Linked DNA regions of Homo sapiens: region 2 is linked to region 1. The links are contacts of gene promoters, found by promoter capture Hi-C in human tissues and cell types (Jung and others, 2019). All regions are on one chromosome and are shown on one strand. Each heading gives the region's core, a stretch centred on a gene start or on the middle of the fragment in contact. The rest is flanking DNA. Distances are from core to core; before and after follow the strand shown. Region 1 holds the start of GBA2 (glucosylceramidase beta 2). Region 2 has its middle 10 kb from the start of SPAAR.

Region 1 (6,995 bases), core at 2,169-4,668:
TCTTTCCCATTTCCACTCTCCTGCCTACTGCCACATTATGCCTACTGTTCAGTCACACCACTTCTAACCAAATAATTGGGTAAGTAACCCCTAAGTCCCAGTTTCCTCATCTACAAAATGGGGATACCACCTGCTCTAGCTATCTAATGAAATGGTTGAAAGATCAAATGACATAATAGATAAGAAAGCCATAAAGTACAGGTATGATTATTACTCATATATACAAACTGTTATCTCAATTCCTAATCAGACATTGCCTTGTTATTTCAATGTTCCTCATGTGAGGCTGACATACTTTTAAGTTCCTTGGGGAAAGGGACAATGACAAAGACTAGCTGAATATTACCCTCAGGTCCAAGCACAGGGTAGGACATATGGTCTGCAGTCAATGCATATTTGCCAATTTTACAGATGAATGAACATACAAATGATGGGGCACAAGAGAGATAACAGACTGGAGCAGAGGAGAAGAAATGTGATTAATGAATAGGGACAGCGGCCAGGCACGGTGGCTCACACCTGTAATCCCAGCACTTTGAGAGGCCGAGGTGGGCGGATCACGTGAGGTCAGGAGTTCAAGACCAGCCTGGCCAATGTGGTGAAACCCCGTCTCTACTAAAAATACAAAAACATTAGCCAGCTGTGGTGGCAGGCACCTGCAATCCCAGCTACTCAGGAGGCTGAGGCAGGAGAATCGCTTGAACCCAGGAGACGGAGGTTGCACTGAGCTGAGATTGCACCATTGTACTCCAGCCTGGGTGACAAGAGCAAGACTGTCTCAAAAAAAAAATAATAATAAAATAAAAAGGGACAGCACATTCTAGGGGTGGAAAGAAGAGGGAAGACAAAGGATGGGATGACAGGAAGGCAGAGAATCCTCTCTGCCAGCTTAGAGAAAACCGGACTTTGAAACTAGAGACCAGAAAGGACTGGTAGAGGGAGGGTGTGGCCGAGGATTAGGGCAACCAGGGAGAGTAACTGCAATCTATGAGGACAGACAGAACAAAGGACTATCTGGCATGGAACAAGCACTCAATAAATATTTATTGAATGAGTGGACTCTGGCTGGAAGGGAGAACAATTGAAATTGAGTTCTTACGAAGGTAAGACCCAGAGAATTCTGTCTTGCTAGAGCTCCTGGTCAGAGTGCCCACAGTTCAGCTCCATCTTAGGAGCTCTCTTACTCCCTTAATATGGTAGCTGGCCATTCCTGACCTATTTGGCCTTCTCCACAATTTCAACCTCAACTCAAGAGTTATCACTTAGAATTCTTGTCTCACCTGTGCTTTCTCCTCATAGGAACTCATCCTATTCCAAAAGCCTTGTATCAGTACCCCCCACTCTATCCTGGAATGGGGAGCCAGGGTCCAGGGGGTTGAGCACAGCTTCAGGCCTCTATGACTCAGTTCATATTTAAGGGCTAAGAGGCTAGGATGCCCATCTTTTCTTGATCTCATTGTTCCTACCACATGCAACTCAGTGTACTTCTCTATGTACACTAGATCCTATTTTGATGCAAAAACTTTTGGGGTCAAACTTGGACTGAATTGATTCCAGAAGCAGCCTGGAGGGATGATTCTTCTCTGCTACAGGCTACCCACAGGCACCAACAAAGCCAGATGTGCAGGCAGCATCAGGCCCTTCCCACTCCCCAGGGCTAGGGTTAGATAACTGATCTCCCCATCACAGCCCCACAGCACTGACTGGGGAAATGAAGGGTCTCCTACTCTAGAAACTGTAAGGGCAGGGTTTCCCAAGCTTTATGCCTCCCTCCACAGTTCTGTGTGTATTGTGTAGACTGAGTCAGGATGACCTCAGGGTGATGCTTTCTGTCCTCACATCCACCTGTTCCTGTTAATGGGTCTGGCTCCTCATCACTAGTCTTTGAACTCAGTGGGGATCTAGATGGGTTCTACATCTATGGCAGTGCCTCTCTGATAAATGACTTAATATCAAGAGCTCTCTATCCCAGAACAGAATGACAGCACCTTCTCATCACTTCAGAGGTGAGGGCAGGGAGGCTCTTCTTACCTACTCCCTGGAGCTAAAGCTTGAAGAAAGAAGCAGTAGTGTTGGGACTCTAACAGTGTGTCTAATGAGGTACAGAGAATGCCCCAGCTGCTTGTGGGAAATAAGGGGTTGAGACCCCCCCACCCCCAAATAAAACAACATTGTGTTAGTATCACAGCAGCCAGATTATCCTTTCCTACCTTGCCACAAAGTATAGCTAATCCCAAAGGGAAGTCATTGGAAACCAGTATGTGAGAAGAGCCTGAATGGGAAAGGCTGATTGCATGACCAAATGTTCCTACCCTTTCCTTCTGAAAAGACAAAACACTGGGAGGGAAGGGTGTTGCAAAGAGATGTGACCTGGTCTCACGGTCCAAAACCACAGGCCTAAAATATGCCAGGGATAGGGACCGCTTCACTCAGACAAGAAGCCCAACTGCTTTCTTGCCCTTTCCCACCTCTGCTAGAAGTTTTGAGCTGGAACAAAGTGAAGCCAAAGGCATTCTAGGCAATGGGGTCTACTCACCTCAAGCCCATGCCTATATGCTTTATCATGTTGCTTAGGGAGACGTTGTTAGCTTGAAAGGGTTTCCTCTTCTCTGTAAACTCATGAGCCAGACAGATGCGCCAGCCAAAGGGAGGCACCTGGTAGCCCATAGCTTTACCCTCATAGGAAACCATCAGCTGCCCAGAGTCCTCCGGATTGCAGCAGTCCGTCTCTTTTGGGGGTCGGCTGTCTTCGGGACTCTTACAGTCTGTAACCTGCACATCCTTGGTGCCGCCAGTCTCTTCAGGGCAATAAACTTGTGGATCCTCTTTGGCACAGCTTATCTGCTCCGAGGCTGGGACGCCGGTTCCCATGTTCCCTGGATCCTGGGTCCCCATGACCTCGATGGCGCCAAGTCCCGAGCCCTCGGATACTAAGTATCTCGCCAGCCTATTCCAGATGCGGGCGCCGGTCGTTGTTAGGTATCGTCCCGGAGGGCCGGGCGTTGGGGAAAGCTTAAATGAGCTGGTGTTTCAGTGGAGCCGGGGAGCTCTTGCTTCAGTGGGGGCGGCGACAGCAAAGAAGCCGCCTTGGGCTCTCCTTCGGTTGTCTCTGTAGGTCCTGGACGGGAAGGGTCGGGCCTCGTCGTCATTGAGCCGACGATTAGCTCGCCCGGCCAAAGGGCGACTGGGCCCGCAGAGAGGGGAGGAGCCGCGGGGCCAGCCCACCAGGCACCGCCCCGGGACGGGCCCGCAAGGCACCGCCCCCGGGACCTCGGCCCGGCCCCTGGGCCACGGCACCGGGTCCCCCAGGATTGGGCGCCAGGTCCCGCCGGCCGGCTCCGGGGCAGCGCCCGCGCCCAGGTGCCAGCCCGTGGGAAGGTGACCCTGGGCGCCGGGATGACCCGAGCCCTTTCCGGTCTGGCCTGCCGGGCGCTTCCGGCCGGAAGGGACTCCGCGGAGGGTGGGGGACCGAAGGGAAGTCCCGCCTCTACCGCCCAGCGGACGCCGCCGCCGCCGCCGCCGCCGCGTACCTAGCCAGGTCCCTGAGGGGCGGGCAGATGAGGCCTAGGGGTGCCGATCCCTAGTGTCGACTATGCGAGGTGACTAGCGGCGGTGATCTTGGGCTGGGACGTGGAACTTTGAGGAAAGGGGGAGCGGAGGCCAGTTTGGGAACTCCGCGGGGGTGCCCAGGGAGAAGAACCCGTCGCACAGGGGCTGGGGTCTAGGGCCCAGAGCGATGTCCTCCCCCTGGGCAGTACTGAGTCTTCAGTCGCCTCCCTCCCACCCGCCTACCCCTCCTATATCCAGGAGCTCCCTCGGGCACCACGGTGCTGACCACCCCTGTCCTCAGCCCTCAGCCCTAGGTGCTCACCGCAACGCCCCTCCCTGTCAAGGTGCTGACCTCCGCCCCGCCTTGTTTCCTTCTAGATCTGATTCCGGAGCTGCCATGATTGAAGTGGTAGCAGAGCTCAGCCGGGGTCCTGTATTTTTGGCTGGGGAGGCGCTGGAGTGTGTAGTGACCGTCACCAACCCCCTTCCGCCCACGGCCACTTCTGCATCCAGGTGGGGATGCTGGCACTGAAGGTGGTGGCCCTTCTGGGAAGAAGCCAGATTATCTCTGGGGCTGAGGCAGAGCTCAGGTTGTCCTGTAGCGACACCACCTCCTCTTGCTCACTGTGCTGTCATTGTAGGAGAGGGCTCTTTAACAGAAGATGTGGATGACATAGCTGTACGCTTTCCTTCCCCTCCCCCGTTCCCCTTTTTACGCACAGTCTGCTACTCTTTATTTAATGGTTTCTCTTTGGGATTGTGGATTTCCTGATCACTAGGACAGCCATCTAACCTTGTTGGTTAAGATGGTGTGATAGGGAGCTTGGGAAAGCATTTGTGAGGTCAGGAACTACCTCTGATGCCTCCTTTTCCTTTTCCCACAGTGAGGCCCTGGCCTGGGCCAGTGCCCAAATCCACTGCCAGTTCCATGCCAGTGAGAGTCGAGTAGCACTGCCTCCTCCTGACTCTAGTCAGCCAGATGTCCAGCCCGACAGCCAGACTGTCTTTCTGCCACACCGAGGTTAGAGAGGGGCATTTGCCTGGGAGAGGGGGGGTGCGGAGGGTGTGTGTGGAGGCATTGTCACCCATGGGTGAAGTTGTTAATTGTTCTTGTTCTTATAGTCCCTGTCATGCTGGGGATGTTGGGGAGCATGACTATTGCTTTAGGGGTAGAAGACTATTCCCATTTCACAGCAGGGACGGAGGGCCTGGCAGCCTTTCACTATCTCCACTTGCCGTGCTAGTCTTGTTCAGTACTGGACAATGGGTCATTAAATTAGTCATTTTTACCTTTTTCAGGTGAGAGGGGCCAGTGTATCCTTTCTACTCCACCGAAAATTCTATTCTGTGACCTGAGGCTTGATCCTGGAGAGTCCAAATCATGTGAGTGATTGTCCCCATCCCTGAATTGCCTTCTAAGTCTCCTGGAGGGAGGACTCCTCTGGTGCCTCTGGCTGTCCTGACAACTACTTCCCAACCAGACTCCTACAGTGAAGTGCTGCCCATAGAGGGACCACCCTCCTTTCGGGGTCAGTCAGTCAAGTACGTCTACAAACTGACCATTGGCTGCCAGCGTGTCAACTCCCCTATCACTTTACTCAGAGTCCCTCTGAGGGTTCTTGTGCTGACTGGTAAGCAAGGGCTCCTGGAGGGAAGGGCTGGGGAAGGGCGATGCCAAAGCAGAAATTGTCTTAGAGGGCTTGCAAGAGGGACTGCAGGGAAACTTCCTGGTCTCAGTGACAGTGCTAGGGAGTTGGGAAGGGAGGGAGGGTTCTGGAGATAGAGATGTAAACCTCAGCCCTGGCACCCCTTACCTTTAGCCATCTCATGTTAGAATCTAAAACCCTAACCTCTACTCTCATCTCCGTTCCCTCTCAGCATTACCTCTCCACTCATTCTTTCTCTAGGCCTTCAGGATGTCCGGTTTCCCCAGGATGAGGCTGTAGCCCCATCCAGTCCATTCTTGGAGGAGGATGAAGGTGGGAAGAAAGATTCATGGCTAGCTGAGCTGGCTGGGGAACGCCTAATGGCTGCCACATCCTGCCGCAGCCTCCGTGAGAATTCTTTCAGAATTGTCCTACCCCATCCTTCCCCTCATTGTTTTCCCATCTCAGAGACAGTCTCCTAACCACCACACACTTCTGTGGATCCACTGATACCTGACACCTCCAATTTTAAAGAAAAGCCCCATCTTTTGGCCTGTGGTGCCCAGTCCTAGACGTTATCCAGTATGTAGACTCCAGGCTTATAGTGTCCTATTCTCCCCAGATCTATACAATATCAGTGATGGCCGAGGGAAAGTTGGGACGTTTGGCATCTTCAAATCTGTGTACAGACTTGGCGAGGACGTGGTGGGGACCTTAAACTTAGGGGAAGGAACCGTAGCTTGTTTGCAGGTAAGAAGGGAGCAGAGCTTCTTACCTGCTGGGGTGCTGGGGTTGAAGGGCTAGGGTGGAAGGCCTGTATAAAGAGGGGTGGCATGTAGAAGGGGATAGTGGGGTCATCCAGGGTCCCTTTGTAAAACAGCTTGAGGTTGGGCTGTCCTCTCACCTACAGACAGCACTTCCTGTTAGCACACACCTGTCTCTTGCTCCCAGTTTTCAGTCAGCTTACAGACCGAGGAGCGTGTACAGCCTGAGTACCAGCGGCGACGTGGGGCAGGGGGTGTCCCCTCTGTGTCACATGTGACTCACGCCCGGCACCAGGAATCCTGCCTACATACAACTAGAACCAGCTTCTCCCTCCCAATCCCTCTCAGCTCCACCCCAGGCTTCTGTACAGCCATTGGTGAGACCCTCACTGTTACTGGAGAAGGGAGAGGGGGACAGTAAAATGCTGTGCTAAGGGAGGGTGTAATGGATCCTGATTCCTTATACACACTCCCAGACATACCCACGTCTAGCCTCTGACCCGGAACAGTTTCTCAGACCTTCAACCTCTTCCTGTTTCTTAGATGCACTGACCCCTAAACTCCTAACAGCTTGATAGAACTCCTTCCCCACACCTACCTACTAGGACCCTGTGATACACTGATTTTTGATTACTTCATGCTACCTAGACTTGACTGCCTCACTCTTAGGTTATTAGGTACTTAATACTGCTATCTTCAGCTCACATCTGTGGTAGTACCCATTGCTTCAGAAAAACCCTTAATCACAGCTCCCTGCCCTGTGACTTTTCCCTGTCTTCCTGAACACAGATTGTTTTCTTCTCATTCACTAACTATATCCTGTCATTGGCTTTTACTCCTGCTAGCTTCTGATGCTTCTACCTTAATCTTTTTCTTCCATAGTGTCCTTGAAGTGGAGATTGCATTTTGAATTTGTAACGTCCCGAGAACCAGGATTGGTACTCCTACCCCCTGTGGAACAGCCCGAACCTACCACCTGGACAGGACCTGAGCAAGTACCTGTAGACACCTTCAGCTGGGACCTGCCCATCAAGGT
Region 2 (7,572 bases), core at 4,945-7,444, 170 kb after region 1:
ACGTGGAAAGGCTAATCCGAGCCCCACTTCTGCCACTCAGTTGCTGGGCCTCAGTTTCCCTGGCTGTACGGAGAAGGTAAGAATCCCATCCCGGCTTGTCTAGAGGACGTGTTAGAGTGAAGATCCTGGGAACCCAGCTGTCAGGAACGGTCAAGGGAAAGAGGCCCGCCCCGCTCTGCCTGCCCTCCTCCCCACCACCTCCAACCCTCGCCCTGCTCTTTCTCCGCATTCCTGGACCTGAAACCAGGGTGGCGTTTCTCGCTGGGACAGGCTGGATTCTGGAATCTAGGAGGCCTTGAAATAACATGTTTTCCGGAAAAGTACCTTCCTTAAAGGAAACTGCTTGTTCCAGGGAGTAGAAAAGGATCATTGTACCTTGCCAGGTCCCCATTCCCCTGAGGACATGACATTTGAAAAGGCAGACTCAGTTGGAGACAGAGACCTGCACCCCCTGCCCTGTGCCTCCATCCAGCATATTCGTAATAGTGAAAAGTTAGAAACCACCTCGACACCAGCAGGAGGGGGCTGGGCTGGCAAATTGCAACACAGCCACAGAATCAAATGCTAGGCAGGTGTTAACGACAATGAGGTAAATTTAAACTCATTAACCTGAAAGGGCATTTATCATGTGTTGGTAAATTAAAAGGGAATTAGAGGACTATAAATGTAGCTGCACCCTTAGACGCATAGAAGACGATGTGGAGAGCTGTATGCCGAGGTGTTGATAGGCCATTGTCTCTGGGTGGGTGGGACTGTTTGTGCATTTTATTTTTTATTTACTTACTTTTTTTTTTTTTTGAGATAGAACTTTGCTCTCTTTGCCCAGGCTGGAGTGCAGTGGCACGATCTCGGCTCACTGCATCCTCTGCCTCCTGGGTTCAAGTGATTCTCCTGCCTCAGCCTCCCAAGTAGCTGGGACTACAGGCAGGCGCTACCACACTTGGCTAATTTTGTATTTTTAGTAGAGACAGGGTTTAACCATGTTGGCCAGGCTGGTCTTGAACTCCTGACCTCAGGTGATCTGCCCACCTCGGCCTCCCAAAGTGCTGAGATTACAGGCGTGAGCCACTGCGCCTTGCCTATTTGTGCATTTTAAATGTTTTCCCTTTGTGTTTATCTGAATTTCTCATAATGAATGATTTGCTCTTGAATAAGAAAGAGCAAGAACCTAACAAAGGAACAAAAGTTATTTTAAAAATTATAAAACAAACCAACTCCAATCTAAGAGATACAAAAACACAGTCAGGCATAGACACAAAAATGGGGGCAGATGAATTTCTCAGAACAGATACAATGATAAGGACACACACACACATACACACAGACACACACCTCTCTTCTGCCTAATTCACATGGCTGAGGTAGGCAAGGCTGGGGAGTTGCAAGCGGTAGGGGTTTGCCAAGTTTCCAGGAACACCGGAGTCTGGGTGTTGGGGTGGCTGCTGGAGCTTCTGGGCAGGTTGGGTGGGCTGAGGAGAGTACAGGGAGCAGCCTGGGGCTCACTAGCCTGAGTGAGAGGCCTGGCTGTACGACACCCAGCCTGCACCTCCTGGGACAGGGTAAGGCTCCTAATCCCAGCTCCCCAGTTCAGGCAAGACTGAGGAGCCTGCCAAAGCAACTCTTCCCCATCCCAGCAGTGGAGGGAGACAGCAGGGTCCACAGCTGGGGAGGAGCTTCCTGGCAACCACCTACGACTTCCAGGCTGAGGCCTTGTCAGCTGCCTACGGACCCCACTTAGGAAGCCAGGGCTGTGGTGGCTCATACAGGGACCCTCTGTCCTTGTCCTCCTGAGATACAGGCACAGCCACAGCCCTGGTGTGGGGCCTGGCCTGAGGCAAGGGGTGGATGCATGTCCTCCATCATCCCCACTGTCACTGTGCTTGCGCAGACCTCACCATGTCATCTCCTTATGGGCCTCCCTGGCCTCACCTCACCCCTGCCCACCCGGCCGCCAGAGAGCTCTTTCTTGGACACAGACCTAACTCCTTAGAGGGCTATTGGGTGGGTCTCTGTTCCCACCTTCAGAGTTCGCTATCTGTGGTAGGCATAATAATCATCCCTCAAAGATGTCCATGTCCTAATCCCTAGAAGCTGAGAAAATGTTATGTTCACCAAGGGGAATTAAGATTGCAGATGAAATCACAGTTGCTAATCGGTAGACCTTAAATAAGATTATCCCAGATTATCTGGGCAGGCCCAATGCAGTAAGAAATGTCCCTTCACTGTGGAGGAGGAGGGCAGAGGAGTCAGGGCAGGTGATGTAAGAAAGACCTGAAGACAGAAGCAGGCCACCAGCCAAGGAGTGTGAGAGTCTCTAGAAACCAGAAAGGAAAAGACAAGGAAAAGCATTCTCCCCAGTTGCCTCCAGATGGGAACATAGCCCTGCCAACATCTTTTTTTTTTTTTTTTTTTGAGACTGAGTCTCGCTCTGTCGCCCGGGCTGGAGTGCAGTGGTGCGATCTCGGCTCACTGCAAGCTCCGCCTCCCAGGTTCACGCCATTCTCCTGCCTCAACCTCCCCGCCCGGCTAGTTTTTTGTATTTTTAGTAGAGATGGGGTTTCACTGTGTTAGCCAGGATAGTCTCGATCTCCTGACCTTGTGATCCGCCCGTCTCAGCCTCCCAAAGTGCTGGGATTACAGGCGTGAGCCACCGCGCCCGGCCTGCCCTGCCAACATTTTGATTTTAGCCTAGTGAGTCCTATTTTGGTCTCTGATCTCCAGAACTATAAGATAATACATTTGTGTTGTTTTAAGCCACTATATTTATGCTAAGTTGTTATAGCAACAAAGTATTCTTAGCTCAACCATTAGTGCTCACAAAGACTTAGCCTTGAATTAGCTCCTCTAGTTAAATCTATTCCTGGCCGCCAAGAGACAGAGAAAGGTGGCCTCTGAGGGGGTCAGGTCTTACAGCTGAAGAAGGCTGTTGGGTCTGGAGTATGGGTGGGCTGACCACTTAGAGATAGGGAAGGGAGTCAGAAATTACATTTCCTAGTAAGTAGGATGAGAGTGATAATGTGACAATTGTCAGGCCCTGCACCAGGTGTTGGGCAATGTGCAAACCCAGTCATCCTTATCCTTACCCTACAGAAACACCCACGCAAGTGTGCAAGCATGTACGTCCAAGGTTGTTCTTACAGTATTGTTTCTATTAGCAAAACATTATAAAAATCCAAGTACCCATCAATTGGGAAATACATAAAGATTATGATACAGCCACAAAAAATGGAATAATAGGCAGCCATTACAAAAATGTACTGACTTGGAAACTGCCCTCTATACATAGAGAAAAAACAGCAAGTTACAGAATGGTCTCATAAAACAAAAACAAAAACAAACAAACCAAAAAACACTTTTCCTCCTCAAGAAAACAAAAATAAGAACAAAAAAACCTCCTAAATTACACATATGCGTATGTGTTTGTATGAACCTAGGAAAATGTCAGGAAGGATGTGATGGCCTCTGGGGGACAGGCTTGGAGGAAGAAGGAAGCTTATGTTTTACTTCATATCCTTCTGTCCTGTTCCACCTTATTTGAACAAGCATGTGTTGCTTTTTATTACAATGTTAAAAGGAAAAATCCTTAGACTAACTAAGTTCAACAGTTTACTTGACCAATTAAAATGATTCAAAACAAAGAGAAACAAAAAACAATTTGGGAATCAGGCAGCCCCCCAGAACCAAAACAGGTTCAGAGAACTTTCAGAGAACTCAGGCCAACACCATGATCAGGCAACATTTGTAGATAGAGAGAGAACAGAAGTGAGATACAGAGACAACTTAATTGGTTACAGCTTAATTGGTTGATTAGTTCTACCTAAACGTCTTACCTTATTCAACTCAGCTGACCTACTGTAGTTCATTAAGTTCAGCTGTGTGACTCACTGAACCTCAACCATTTGCAAGAATATATTCCTAAAGTAATTAGTTTCATTAAGCGTGATGGCTTCATATTGGTTTGGTCTGCTAGGCTCAGTAAAGGACACTAATTCAAATCAATGGCCTCCTATTTTAACACATAATAACTTTTTTAATGTTAAGATAACACAGGTTAAGAAAGCAAACTTGACTGTCCTGTTCTGTGACAAACAGCTGTTATTTGCAAAAAGGACTCCCTGGGTTGAGGGAGACCAGAGCTCCACTTAGCAAGGCCACTCAGGAAACAGATGGACCAACTTGAGTTCTTTTTCTGTGTGAGCTCATCTGGGGAATGAGACACTGTGGATCTTCTGAGTGGAAAAGTGGAGTCATTCAAGCCCTCCTGGCTTCTACAGAGGTGAGAGCTGAAGTTCTGAAAGGGGAACTGACATATTCCTCTACATTTTATGGCACTTCCAGACTAAAATATAACTTTCTGGCCTCCATTTCAGTGAACTTTGAACTTCCTCAAAACTCACACTCCCCTTTTCGTAATCCATAATTTTTATGTGAGGGATAAAATTTTCTGTTTTACAGCCTGATCCTGGCTACTTACAGAATGGCTGCACTTTAAACCCAAGGTGTTCTTTGCACCCTGTAGCCCCAGCCCATAAAAGAGACAAACACTGGCAGAGAGATGGTCCCAGGAGAGCAGCCGGGAGGAGGCACTGGAGTTCAGGGCTCCAGTCCCAGCTCTGCTCATCTGGCTCCTATGACGAGGGTTGTATCCAGTGTGTGGACGTCCCCTCTCCTCAGGCTGGAAACCCTCTGAGGTCAGTGCAGAGCCTCGGAATAGCGACATTGACATCTGTCTGGCACATAATGGCCTTCAAGGTGTCCTAAGTTTACAAAGCTCTTTCCCAGGCATCTCTCAGTTGTCTCCCATAACAAGCCTTGGGGCCCAGTAAAGCAGGCTGTATTAACCGCAGTTTACGGATGAGGGAACCAAGACTTAGAGACACAAAAGTGACAGGCCCCACTCCAAGTCACTCAACAAATTGGTCACAAAGTTCAGCACAGGACCATATTATCCCCTCTCCTTCAGCCAGAGCCTCATTTTTGCCTCTTTTATATCTTCTGTTTCCCAGGTAGATTTTGCTTGATAAAAAGGGGTCTGCTGCTTTAAAAGGTTTGAAAGCTCCAGAATAATGTTTCCAAATTCCCCGCGAATACTTCTGTTCAGTATTCAGGAATGAGAAATTGAAATTTCTGGGAATTCATGAGCATTCCTGAAATTATACATTAAATTTTTTTTTTTTTGGAGACAGGATCTTACTCTGTCACCCAGGCTGGAGTACAGTGGTACGATCATAGCTCACTGCAGCCTCGAACTCCTGAGCTCAAGTGACCCTCCTTCCTCAGCCTCCCGAGTAGCTGAGACTATAGGTACATGCCTATAGAGTGTGCCCCTAACATCTTCATGTTAGCCATTAGGGTGCTCCTGGCTATTTTGTTTTCTTCTTTTCTAGAGACAGAGTCTTACTATGTGACCAGGCTGGTTTTGAACTCCTGGCCTCAAGCTATCTTCCTGCTTCAGCCTTTCAAAGTGTTGGGATGACAGGTGTGAGTCACTGCGCCTGGCTCATATTTTCTATAACATTATATTCACATACTTTTAAATAATAATGAATGACCAGAATAATAAACAGTTAATAATTGTCAGTGACAAATTGATGCTAAAAGTTCCAGACTTTTTCCTTAAGGTTTATTATTATTATGAACCAATATGTTGTGACAAGATTATTTCAATAACATAAAAATTATCTCCACCTGATATAGGCACTGGATATAGAAAACATTAAAAAGGAGGGAACATTATTGCAAAATAAATGCCAGATAAAAATCACTTAAAAATGGAAAAATAATAGCACAAACATTTAATTTTAAAAGTTATTTTTAAAATGAACTTTTAAAACACAAAGCTTTAATTGCTCTATCTGATAGTTTTGATCTTTGTTTTGTGACAAATATTCTAGATGTAGGAAACTTTTTTGTTTTTTCATTTTTCATTGATGTTGGTTGAGTGTGCCCCTAACATCTTCAGGTTAGCCATTAGGGTACATGTTGTTTTATAGAAGCTCATTTCCTTTTTAAATGATGCTTTATTTTTATTTTTACTTTTTGGTCTGCTTACTCTGGTCTTGATTTTGCCATTGAGATCAATATTGCTCTTGCTAATTCAGATTTTAGAGCAATTTCTGATTTCCTTCTGGAGTGTTCTATAACAGCAATCACGTCTTCTTTTTGCATCTCTTCTGTTAAAGTATTTACAAAGAACTGTAGCCTATAATGAATATTCAACACGTGGAAATGCCAGCAATCATTACTGGGAAGTGTTCAAATAACTAACATTCAGACTCACTAACAAGGTTCATAGAATCACTTGTTGGAATTGCCAGTTTCAAGACTTATTTTGCTTTCAAAATTTGTTATTTTTTTCCGACACTGCTCATAGGACTTGTATAAGTATCCTATGTGTACAAACTTACCAATATTTGTTTTATTTGCAAAAATGACTTACCATTAGAAGCAGACCAGGTCACAAACACACACTTATAACCAGTGTGTGCTGGTAAACTGACTCTCCTGGAGAAAAAAAAAAAAACCCTTATATGTAGGGTTTGCCAAATTCTGAGGGGAGGCATAAATGTTCCCACAATGGTCAATGCCCAGCTACCGAGGGGATGTCACTGAGAGCTGGGAAGAGCAGCATACAACTGGCTCTTCTTGAGCCAGCGCTAGCCCACCACCACCTCTACCCTGGCAACAGCAGTCGGAAGACTGATTAGATGATGGCCTTTTCTCTCCTCTACTCCCCAGTTCCATTCAGAACTTAACTTTCCTATGGGTGCCTCAGTATTTTCTACTCTCGCTTTTGATTTGGTGTCAGTGGATTCCTTTGAACTAGTCACATCTAGTTCAACATGTTGATTGCTAAGCTTTAATTCTCACACAAAAACACTCTTACCAGGTTCCTAGATGTCTTAACTTCTTTTTCTCAGGAATTGGCATTTGGAAAAACAGTATTTCCGAGAAATGCTGGGAAGGAATTCCTGCATAAAAACACAAATCTGGCCGGGCACGGTGGCTCGTGCCTGTATTCCCAGCACTTTGGGAGGCTGAGGCAGGTGGATCATGAGGTCAAGAGATCAAGACCATCCTGGCCAGCATGGTGAAACCCCATCTGTACTAAAAATATAAAAATTAGCTGGGCGTGGTGGTGCGCGCCTGTAGTCCCAGCTACTCGGGAGGCTGAGGCAGGAGAATCACTTGAACCCGGGAGATGGAGGTTGCAGTGAGCCGAGATTGTGCCACTGCACTCCAGCCTGGGCAACAGAGGGAGACTCCATCTCAAACAAAGCAAAACAAAACACAACACAAATCCAGGAAACCCAAGTAAAACCTATTTGCTTGACTGATCGTGATCCTACTGGATACATTCTCCTGGGTCCCAATTTTGGCCACCGCTCATTTTCATTGATCTCATTTTAAGGGGTTTGAGGTATGGAGTCCTTAGGATTTGGTGTTAAGTTTGGTGATTTTTCAGAGAGGCCGCACCAGAGCTGCATCGGTGATCATTTGACTTTATGTCTGACCCTGTGCACAGGGGTCTACTTGTCTCCTAACCTCAGTTTTCCTCTTTTTCCTTATTAG

Evidence for each region. The method cuts DNA at HindIII sites, captures the fragments that hold promoters and counts their contacts. A contact is called where the count stands out against the background at its distance.
Region 2: a contact is called between a fragment that was not itself captured here and the fragment with the promoter of GBA2 in region 1, in 1 of the 25 tissues and cell types used here (adrenal gland).

What each region holds. Positions count from the first base shown.
Region 1 is chr9:35,745,810-35,752,804 of GRCh38, forward strand. GBA2 (glucosylceramidase beta 2) reads right to left here and starts at 3,419. Exons shown (of 17, transcript NM_020944.3): 1 at 2,537-3,419. The coding sequence starts at 2,895. It overlaps RGP1 (RGP1 partner of RAB6A GEF complex), which reads left to right and starts at 3,478. Exons shown (of 9, transcript NM_001080496.3): 1 at 3,478-3,599; 2 at 3,928-4,062; 3 at 4,434-4,570; 4 at 4,849-4,932; 5 at 5,031-5,180; 6 at 5,457-5,603; 7 at 5,818-5,945; 8 at 6,147-6,336; 9 at 6,842-6,995. The coding sequence starts at 3,947. RefSeq lists silencers at 3,118-3,517, 3,638-3,687, 3,718-3,767. The HindIII fragment of the contact is 11,811 bases long and covers 2,532-6,995 here.
Region 2 is chr9:35,915,937-35,923,508 of GRCh38, forward strand. No RefSeq gene overlaps it. Among named protein-coding and RNA genes, the nearest start is that of SPAAR, 10 kb to the left of the region's middle. RefSeq lists a silencer at 1,592-1,733 and an enhancer at 7,335-7,572. The HindIII fragment of the contact is 3,057 bases long and covers 4,667-7,572 here.